Linked DNA regions of Homo sapiens: all the other regions are linked to region 2. Evidence: promoter capture Hi-C in human tissues and cell types (Jung and others, 2019). All regions are on one chromosome and are shown on one strand. Each heading gives the region's core, a stretch centred on a gene start or on the middle of the fragment in contact. The rest is flanking DNA. Distances are from core to core; before and after follow the strand shown.

Region 1 (3,065 bases), core at 138-2,637, 380 kb before region 2:
CTCAAGCAACTCCTTTCCCAAGCCTCAGGCCTCAGATGAGACCCTCCCCTCTAAGGGAAGGAAAGTGTTGGAGCCAAGCTTGCCCCTGGGCCTCCAGCCCCAGGGTCCAGGTTGTAGACGGCTCAGGCCTGTTATGGGGAAGCCAAGGACTGGCTCTCACCTGAGAAGGAGCTTGCTCTTGGAGTGGCAATCTCTCACCTAGAGGGAGAGGCTCCCACATGGAAAGGGAAGTACCCACTTGAAGTGGGGGAAAGAGCTCACCTGGGAATAGAAGCTTTCAAGGGGAATCTCACCTAGAGGGATCTCTGACCTACCAGGGAATCTTTATCAGCCTGGCAAGTTCTGATACAGGGGGAATCTTCCCTCTGCCCAGAGGCACCTACTTGAAGTCAGAGAAAGATCTCACATGGGAAGAAAAGACCTAGAGGGAGAGGGTTCTCACCTGGGGGGTACTCTCCCATAGAGAAAGCTCTGACCTCGGGCGAGGCTCCCACGTGGAATGGGGAAAAGCTGTCACCTGGGAATAGATCTCACAGAAGGATCTTACCTGGGGGAAAACTCTAGCCTGTTGGGGAAGCTTTCACCAGTCAGGAAAGTTCTGATCTAGGAAAAGCCCTGACCTGGGGAGAGGATCCCATTTGAGGGACAGGAACTCACCTGGGAAGCGCCTCTAACCTGGCTGTACTGTTGGAGGAGTGTGGAGTGGGTGCAAGGAAGATCCTCAGAGACTCTTGGGACCGCTATCTCAAGGAGATCGTAGAGCCCCCTCTCCTTTCCTACGTGAGTCACTCAGGTCTTCTTAAAGGGCTCCCTCCCCCGACAACTTGGGACCCGCGTTTGGAGGGCGGAGCCTTGATCATTGGCCCCTCCCTGTAGGAAGGCAACTGGGGCCAGAAAGGCCGGAGCGCTCACTCCGGGATCAGTGGAGCTGGGTGGACTCGGGACTCAGCTGAAAGCAGCTAGTCCACGGGCCGCTGCCAGGGACTCCCGTGCCCCACGCACCCCCGCCGGCACATCTCCTGGCCGGGCTCCTCCGCACGCAGCTGCCTCCCTGTGGCCCGGGATGGCCCTCGGGCGTCACACCAGCGGCTTTCCGCACAGCCCAAGGGACTGGGGTCGCGCCGGCTCCCGCCCCCACCCCTTGCTGCAGAGGGGCAGCCGCCTGCAGAAAATCAGCAGAGGTAAACCGAGGCGTCGCAAGCGGAGAATGCCTGCTCCAGCGAGGCGTCGCAAGCGGAGAATGCCTGCTCCAGCGAGGCGCTCGCGCGGGGCCACCGGGAATGTGCGCTGAACTCACCCCGACGCATCCGCCAGCCCCATGGCTCGCAAGTTGTCCGGTGCGGGCTGCTCCTGCTGCTCGAGCTAGAGGCCGCTACGCTCCGGAAGGCGGCGCCGGGACCGGGTGAGGCCAGCTGCGCTCTCCCGGGGGCTAATCCCGGGGCAGGACGGGGAGGCTTGGGCCAATCAGCGCGCTGGGGCGGGGCCTAAGTGGCGCGCGCCGGGCGGGGAGAGACTGGAGAAGGAGGATTTAACCGCTTCCTCCCCGGCGACCTGGCCTATGAGGCCTCTCGCTGCTCGCCCGGCCCTCTGCCCGGAGCTGGATGGGACTGCAGAACTGGAACTAAGCACCCGCGCCGGGCTGGCCGCAGTCGCGCCCCCAGGCCCTGAGTAGGTTGGAGCTGATCCCAGGTCCTGGCTCGGCGGAAGGTGCTCACGGAGTGGGAAAAGGAAACTCCACTGGCCGGTGACCCCAGCCTTAACTCGTAGGGGATCCAGGTCTGTGGGGCCTCTCTTGCCTTCAGCTGAGAGCGCCACCCGCAGGCTTTCTGCGACTACGCATCTCTTTGAGACCCGGAGCCAACGGTCCCCAAGTCCTCCCCTTTAACTCTGGCCACCCAGGCCAGAAATGGTTGGAGGATCCCCTCCGCTGCACTAAGCACAGCCCGGACGTAGCTCCCAGAAGGTTACTGCGCGGGCCGCCGAGGAGAATGGTGGGGGTCAGTGCTGTTGGGTGGGCGTCAGTGCTGTTGGGTGGGCAAGGCAGGAACTGCAAGAGCAGTTCCTCAGGTTGGTTTCACCGCAGGTGAGGGCAAAAAATGCCGGGTCAGGGCTGCAGACCCTGAAGAATTAGGAAGTCCTGTTGCCGTTGCCTTGACCAGCGGGGAGGTTTTCCTTAGCACCTTATTTTCAGCACCTGTGCTCCAACATCAGGCCCCAATTACAAAGTGAGGGGCCAGATTTCAAGGTGAAAGAGATCTGCCATGAAATGGGCTAAAAATAGCTGGATATTCTTGGGAGGGGCTCAGATTCCTCCCAAAGGTCAGTCTGGCTTGAATCATTCACAGCTTCCATCCTACCTCCCCAGCCCCCAACAGGAAAAGGCAACAACTGTTTTCTATAGAAGTTTATTCCCAAAACAGAGCGCGGCTTCACGGAACAATTTACACAGACAGGAAAGAGGGCCGCTGGGCTGGAGGAGGGGAACCCCAGAGAGGGGCATCTACGAAACCTAGGACATAGTAAAGACACCCTCCCACCCCCAGCAGGCCACTCAGCCCTTCAAGAGCTGGGGTCCTTCTCGGTAAGGAGAGTTTGGGTCCTGGCTGGTGGGATTTAGCTCCAGTCAGGGAAGTAGAATTTCTAATCTCCCAGGAAGCTGCTTCCCAAGAGTATGCATGGGGTGGTGGGTGAGGAGGTGTCTGCACAGACCACCCCCCAGCCCTGCACAGCCACTCTCCCCCGTGGTTAGAGGACGCCTACTCTCAAGGTCTTCTGGATCTGCTGTTAAACGGGACTCAAGGCTGACCTTCGGCCTGGGAGACCTGGGGGTTAGAAAACCCCTCAAGATGGCCAGGTCAGGGTCCTCACAGGTGGGTCCTCCAAGTCCCTCTCCCACTTTCCCTACCTTTCACTTGGAAACAAAGGAAAAAAAATTATCTACTGTAAACAAAGTGTAAAACTCAAAGTTTTGAGTTGTAAACAAAGTAAAAACATTTTTTGAATCTGGACTTGTAAACAGTAACAAAATTTTAAAGTCTTCAGTTCTGGACAGCAGACAAAATAGC
Region 2 (3,264 bases), core at 61-2,560:
GTCCAACTTCTGTTGCTGGAACTCCTCCTCACAGCTAACAACATGTACAACCAGGCAGCCGCCTGTACCAGTATCTGAGGCCCCAGCCTAAGGGAGGACAATCATAACTGTGGAAGTACAGTATACTTGGTTTGGGAGAACCTACAGGGCTGGGAGTCACTAACCAGGCCTGGGTGGCTGTCCTCGGGCCAATGCCATAGAGCCTCTTGCAGCTCAGCCAGCACAGAGAGGAGATCCTCAGTCACTGAAAAGAGAACAGACAGGTGCTGAGACTGACAAGAAGCAGAGATGTGCCCCTAACCCCCTCCTGCCTTTTCTGGCCCTGCTAGGCTTCAGGTCCTACCCAGACAGTTGTCCAGGTTGGGGTCATAGCCAGCTGTGCGGCCCTGTTCTTCCACCAGCTCCTTCAGACACAGTCTGCCTAGGATGCCAGGGGACAGTGTCCTCCCGTCATTAGCAGAGGTAAGTTCTTCAAGGGCGTGGCTCCTCAGGGTGTGGGAGGAAGCTCTCTCCGAGGCAGCGGGCCAGTCCACCCGCAGTTGCTGCAGGAAGGTCAGCATGTGCGGATCCCGCACAGCTGGCACTAGGCGCACGCACACCCTGCGAAGGGAGGGCGGCCGCCTCAGTCTGAGCACCTGGTCCAGCTCGCCACGACTTCCCACCTCCAGCCGCAGTCCCCACGGGCGGCGCCGCTCGCTTTCTAGGTACCCGGCAGTCCCACTTTCTCCATTCCGGCCCCGCGGCCCCGCTCACCCGTGAGCGCGCAGGGCTCGCGCCAGGTGATCGGCCACGAGCACCGTACGCAGCTGGCTCAAGCGGAGTGCGCAGGGGGAGCTGCGCAGTGCTGGGCAGTGTAGTAAGACGCGCTGGCCCAGCGAGGCAGGCGAGGCGGGCGTGGCATAGGCGGCCACGGCGCTGAGGACGCGCTCGAAGACGGCGGACCGCTGCAGTTGGAGAGACAGACCCGCGGGGGTCGGCGCGCAGCGCAGCACCGGGGCCACACCGGGGCCCTGCAGGCAGGCGAGGGCATGGAGCAAATGCTCCGGAACCTGCGGGAGAACGGGCGTGTAAAAGAGCCACGGCACGGGGCCCATCTCCCGGCCGCACGGCCCCGCCCGGCTCACGCCCACCTGGCCGTCATCGAAGCGCGCCTGCAGCGCGCGGTGCGGTGCCAGAAAGTCTCGGGAACGCAGGTGGCGGGTGCGCGTCTCCTTGATCCACACCGGACCGCCTGGCCCCAGGGCCGCGTTGAGGGCCCCCAGCGTCTCCCCGACCCCAAGGCGCCTGGTCGCCATGGTGACCGGAAGGAGTAAGCGGAACCGGAAAAAAATTTAGGGAGGTGGAACTTCCGGAAAGGACCGACTAGCTGGGGCGGGGATGCGGCGGTGGTCCCCGTAAGTGGACAGGTGCGCCAGTGGTAGCCCTGTCGGCTGCTTTCGACCTACCGCCCCCAGCGCCCCTTCCGCGTGGTCCACCTGCACAGCCGGGCCCCGGATCTGAAATCTCGGGGCCCTCCCTGGGCCTAGGGTTCTTTCGCTGTGACCCAGGCCTTAACCAGGAAAAGGATCCTCGCGACCCGGTGGGCGCTTAGACCGGGTACCGTCTCTTCTCATCGAAGTCTCACATGTTTGTTTTAATAACATTTCATTTCTCCCATTTTACACATGATGAATATTCGTCACTGGAATAAGGCAGTATAACATTAAGGCCACTTTCACGACCTACTTAAAATATCTCGTTTTAAAAAGAATAGTGTTCCGCGGTTTCAGGTTATTTGCAAGCATTTTCTCGTTTGAGATATGGGTGTTTTTTTGTTTGTTTGAGACGGAGTCTTGCTCTTGTCTCCCAGGCTGGAGTGCAGTGGCACGATCTCGGCTCACTGCAGCCTCCACCTCCCGGATTCACAGGATTCTCCTCCTCAGCCTCCCGAGTAGCTGGGATTACGGGCGCCCGCCACCACGCCCGGCTAATTTTTGTATTTTTAGTAGAGACGGGGTTTCGCCATGTTGGCCAGGCTGGTCTCGAACTCCTGACCTCGTGACCTGCCCGCCTCGGCCTCCGAAAGTGCTGGGATTACAGGCATCAGCCACTGCACCCAGCCCGGGTGGTCTTTATGCCCAATAAATAAGCACTCTGATACAGTTGGCGGTTTTCTTCTCTTGATACCTGAGAAATCACAACCATCATGATGGCTTCCAGAATTACCAGACTTTTTTTTTTTTTTTTTGAGACGGAGTTTCGCTCCTGTTGCCCAGGCTGGAGTACAGTGGTGTGATCTTGGCTCACCGCAACCTCCCCCTCCCGGGTTCAAGTGATTATCCTGCCTCAGTCTCCCAAGTAGCTGGGATTACAGGCACGCGCCACCACGCCCGGCTACTTTTGTATTTTTAATAGAGACGGGGTTTCTCCATGTTTGTCAAGCCTCGAACTCCCGACCTCAGGTGATCCGCCTGCCTCGGCCTCCCAAAGTGCTGGGATTACAGGCGTGAGCCACCGCGCCCGGCTCAGAATGACCAGCTTTTAATGTGACTCCTTTAACCTGGTGTGCTTTAACAACGATCCTTAAAGCTTCCTGTTTTAGGCAACAGCCATTTACGGGCCAACCAAATAATGCGACCATAATAGAAAATAGGCCTCAGTTGGAGTATCTTGCTCCTCTACCAATAGGAAAGGTCTTTTTCTTTCTCCCACAAAGGTTCCCAAATGTCTTCATTTCACTGTAACTTACTCACCCCCCACCCCACCCCCATTCCTTTTAATAGAGAAGCTAACTCAGTAGAGAGAGTTGGGAAATCCGGAGAGCAGGGAAACCCAGGGGCAGGAAAAGCTTGGCAAGGCCCCTTTCTGGGCCAGGGCTGAGGCCCTGCTGGGAGGCGCCGAAAGAGCACTGGGCGGACACGACATTCCCGATGGCTTCTCGGGTGCCCACTCAACGGGAGTGATCGTGTCATTCCAAAGCGCTTTCCATTCTGAAGGTGCATGACCTGGAGACAACTGCTTAGCAGGGTTGGGAACCCTCAGTCAAACTGAGGACTTCAGATACTCTCATCCACGAAGACGGTTGGGGTGGTTTTTCCCCAGGAAGTAAGAGGGCTATCTTTAGCGAGATGCGGGCTGAGGCAGCCCTGGGGGAGTCACTACCATTGCAGCCCTACCCAGAGGTCCTGGGTCCACCCTCCCTCGCCAATCCTCCCCAGGGTTCCAGAGATGGCCACCAGCCTCGGCTCTCCCACGTCTACACCCATCACCTCCAGCCTGAGGGCG
Region 3 (3,222 bases), core at 174-2,673, 260 kb before region 2:
AAAAAAAAAAAAAAAAAAAGAGAAAAGGAAAACAAAATGAAGAAGACAGCAGAGACTAGGGTATGTGTACAGGATAAGAATGACTTAGGGCCTGAGGAGAATGAACAGGGGAGCTCATATAGAATAGAAGCTGCTAATGTTGCTGTGTGCTCACTCCCAGCAGGCTCTCTGGTGAGTACTTTATGTGTATCATTTCATTTTTTTTGCCAAAGAAGTCTAAGAAAGTAGGTACTATTACTATCCAATTTTGTGGATGACTTTCCTCAGAAGCCTGGGGGATAAATAATCTTTCCCTAGCAGGTAGCGTGAGTAGTTGGTAGATTCAGGGTTGAGAGGAGATGGGAAAGAATGTCATCTAGAATACATGAGAAACAAAAAGCCTTGGTTCACCTCTTCCTCTGGACCAAATGAAGGACAGTGAAAGGACTTTGGTCCATTAAATTTTACTGATTTGGTAATACTTCACTACAATGGATTATGATAATGTGAAACAATGCAAGGGGATAAAATTTAAAATAAAACCATGTTTTGATGATTTTAACCATCAGCTGAAAACAGTTGATCTTTGTGGCAGTTAAGGGATGCACTCTTTTGCATTTCCAATCTCATGAAACAGCCTGGTTAGGCTGGGACAGGCTAAATGTGTGGGCCAAGACACACATTTCCTGTTTCCATGCTGTCCAGTGGTGGATATTCTGGGTATACTGGCTGTTCAGGCTTTGTAGGACTGCTGTCATTTTGCAGGGTAGAATGAGATGACTACCCAGTTGGAAAAGAGAGCTCACTGGAAGAGCATCCTGCCCCTTTTTTTTTTTTTTTTTTTGAGACGGAGTTTCACTCTTGTTGCCCAGGCTGGAGCGCAATGGCGCGATCTTGGCTCACCACAACTTCTACCTCCTGGGTTCAAGTGATTCTCCTGCCTCAGCCTCCTGAGTAGCTGGGATTTACAGGCACGTGCCACCACATTCAGTTAATTTTGTATTTTTAGTAGAGACAGGGTTTCTCCATGTTGGTCAGGCTGGTCTCGAACCCCCAACCTCAGGTGATCCGCCTGCCTCGGCCTCCCTAAGTGCTGGGATTACAGGCATGAGCCACTGCGCCCGGCCAAGTATCCTGCTTTTCAAGTTCACTAATAGGCTCTGTGTACACATCTCACAGAAAGAACATTCCATTCTACATTCAACAGTAAAGAAGCCAGACTGTACTGCATTTTAGGTCTTTGTGAACATGTCATCAGGTTCTTATATGTCTCTTTTTCACAACAGATAATATAAGATCCACATTCCACCATAAGAATGACTGAAGCCCTAATTTTCAGGATATGGGAATCTTTTTGGTTTAATGCAATGGTACTTTAATAGCAAAAACATAAAACATGATTTTGTAAAACTAAAGCCACCTTCTGTCTACATTACTCTAAGAATAAGCTAAATATTCTATCAATCATGAAAATTACTTGTGAAAATTATACAAGTCATTAAAAAACAAAAATGTAGGCCAGGTGTGGTGGCTCACGCCATCCCAGTACTTTGGAAGGCCAAGGCGGACAGATCACCTGAGGTCAGAAGCTTGAGACCAGCATGGCCAACAGGCAAAAACCCTGTTCTCTACTAAAAATAAAAAAAAATTAGCCGGGCATGGTGATGCATGCCTGTAGTTCCAGCTACTCGGGAGGCTGAGGCAGAAGAATCACCTGAACTGGGGAGGTGGAGGTTGTAGTCAGCCGAGATTGTGCCATTGCACTCCAGCCTGGACAACAAGAGCAAGACTCTGTCTCAAAAAACAAAACAAAACAAAACAAAACACAAAAATGTAGTCAGGTATGGTGGCACAAGCCTGTAATCTTAGCTACTTGGGAGGTGAGGTGGGAGGATCACTTGAGGTCAGAAGTTCAAGACCAGCATGGGCAACATAGAGAGGCCCTGTCTCTACAAAAAATTTAAAAATTAGCTGGGTGTAGGCCGGGCGCAGTGGCTCACACCTGTAATCCCAGCACTTTGGGAGGCCGAGGCTGAGGTGGGCGGATCACCTGAGGTAGGGAGTTCACAGACCAGCCTGACCAACATGGAGAAACCCTGTCTTTACTAAAAAAAAAAAAAAAAAAATTAGCTGGGCATGGTGGTGCATGCCTGTAATCCCAGCTACTCAGGAAGCTGAGGCAGGAGAATCGCTTGAACACAGGAGGCGGGGGTGGTGGTGAGCTGAGATCGTGGCATTGCACTCTGGCCTGGGCAACAAGAGCAAAACTCCGTCTCAAAAAAAAAAAAAAAAAAATTAGCTTAGTGTGGTGGCATTACTTGGAAGGCTAAGGGAAGAGTATTGCTTGAGCCTAGAAGTTCAAGGCTGCAGTGAGCTATGATTGCACACTGTACTGAAGCCTGAAAGACAGAGTGAGACCTTGCTTCTAATAAACAAAAACAAGGCTGAGTGCAGTGGCTCACACCTGTAATCCCAGCACTTTGGGAGGCAGAGGAAGGAGGATCACGAGGTCAGGAGACTGAGACCATGCTGGCTAACACGGTGAAACCTGTCTCTACTAAAAACACAAAAAATTAGCCGGACGTGGTGGCGGGCGCCTGTAGTCCCAGCTACTTGGGAGGCTGAGGCAGGAGAATGGCGTGAACCCAGGAGGCGGAGCTTGCAGTGAGCCGAGATCACACCACTGCACTCTAGCCTGGGTGACAGAGGGAGACTCCATCTCAAAAAAACAAAACAAAAACAATAAAAATAACTCAAAATGGATCACAGACCTAAGGTAAGAGCTAAAATTCTGACTGTCTAGAGCTGTACTGCTCAATACATTAGCCACGAGTCAAATGTGGCTGAGCACTTGAAATGTTGCTAGTATAAACTTAGATGTGCTATAGATGGAAAACATACATTAGATTTTGAAGACAGTATTAAAAATGTAAAATATCTCATTAATAAAGTTTTATATCACTTAGATGTTGAAACAACATTTTAGATATACTGAGTTAAATGAAATATATTAAAATTAAGTTCACCATTTCAAATATCTACTGAAAGTTTTTATTTATTTATTTTTTTTGAGACCAAGTCTTGCTCTGTCCCCCAGGCTAGAATGCAAGTGGCATGATCTTGGCTCACTGCAACCTCTGCCTCCCAAGTTCAAACGATTCTCGTGCTTCAACCTCCCAAGTAGCTGGGATTACAGTTGTGCACCAGCAAACTCAGCTAATTTTTTTTATTACTTTTTAGTAG

Evidence for each region. Contacts are between HindIII fragments. The study calls those that stand out against the background at their distance.
Region 1: the fragment with the promoter of SLC26A6 here is called in contact with the fragment with the promoter of DALRD3 in region 2 in 1 of the 25 tissues and cell types used here (psoas muscle).
Region 3: a fragment that was not itself captured here is called in contact with the fragment with the promoter of DALRD3 in region 2 in 1 of the 25 tissues and cell types used here (bladder).

Annotation. Positions count from the first base shown.
Region 1 is chr3:48,634,074-48,637,138 of GRCh38, forward strand. SLC26A6 (solute carrier family 26 member 6) reads right to left here and starts at 1,388. Exons shown (of 21, transcript NM_022911.3): 1 at 1,298-1,388. The coding sequence starts at 1,320. CELSR3 (cadherin EGF LAG seven-pass G-type receptor 3) reads right to left here. Exons shown (of 35, transcript NM_001407.3): 35 at 2,390-3,065. RefSeq lists silencers at 827-926, 1,317-1,596. The HindIII fragment of the contact is 9,287 bases long and covers 426-3,065 here.
Region 2 is chr3:49,017,270-49,020,533 of GRCh38, forward strand. DALRD3 (DALR anticodon binding domain containing 3) reads right to left here and starts at 1,311. Exons shown (of 12, transcript NM_001009996.3): 1 at 1,131-1,311; 2 at 754-1,049; 3 at 344-600; 4 at 165-244; 5 at 1-87. The coding sequence starts at 1,295. It overlaps MIR425 (microRNA 425), which reads right to left and starts at 2,965; the gene lies at 2,879-2,965. It also overlaps a transcript of NDUFAF3 not described here. RefSeq lists an enhancer at 87-858 and a silencer at 307-541. The HindIII fragment of the contact is 18,150 bases long and covers 1-3,264 here.
Region 3 is chr3:48,758,581-48,761,802 of GRCh38, forward strand. All of the region lies in intron 8 of PRKAR2A (protein kinase cAMP-dependent type II regulatory subunit alpha), which reads right to left. Among named protein-coding and RNA genes, the nearest start is that of IP6K2, 43 kb to the left of the region's middle. The HindIII fragment of the contact is 4,310 bases long and covers 1-3,222 here.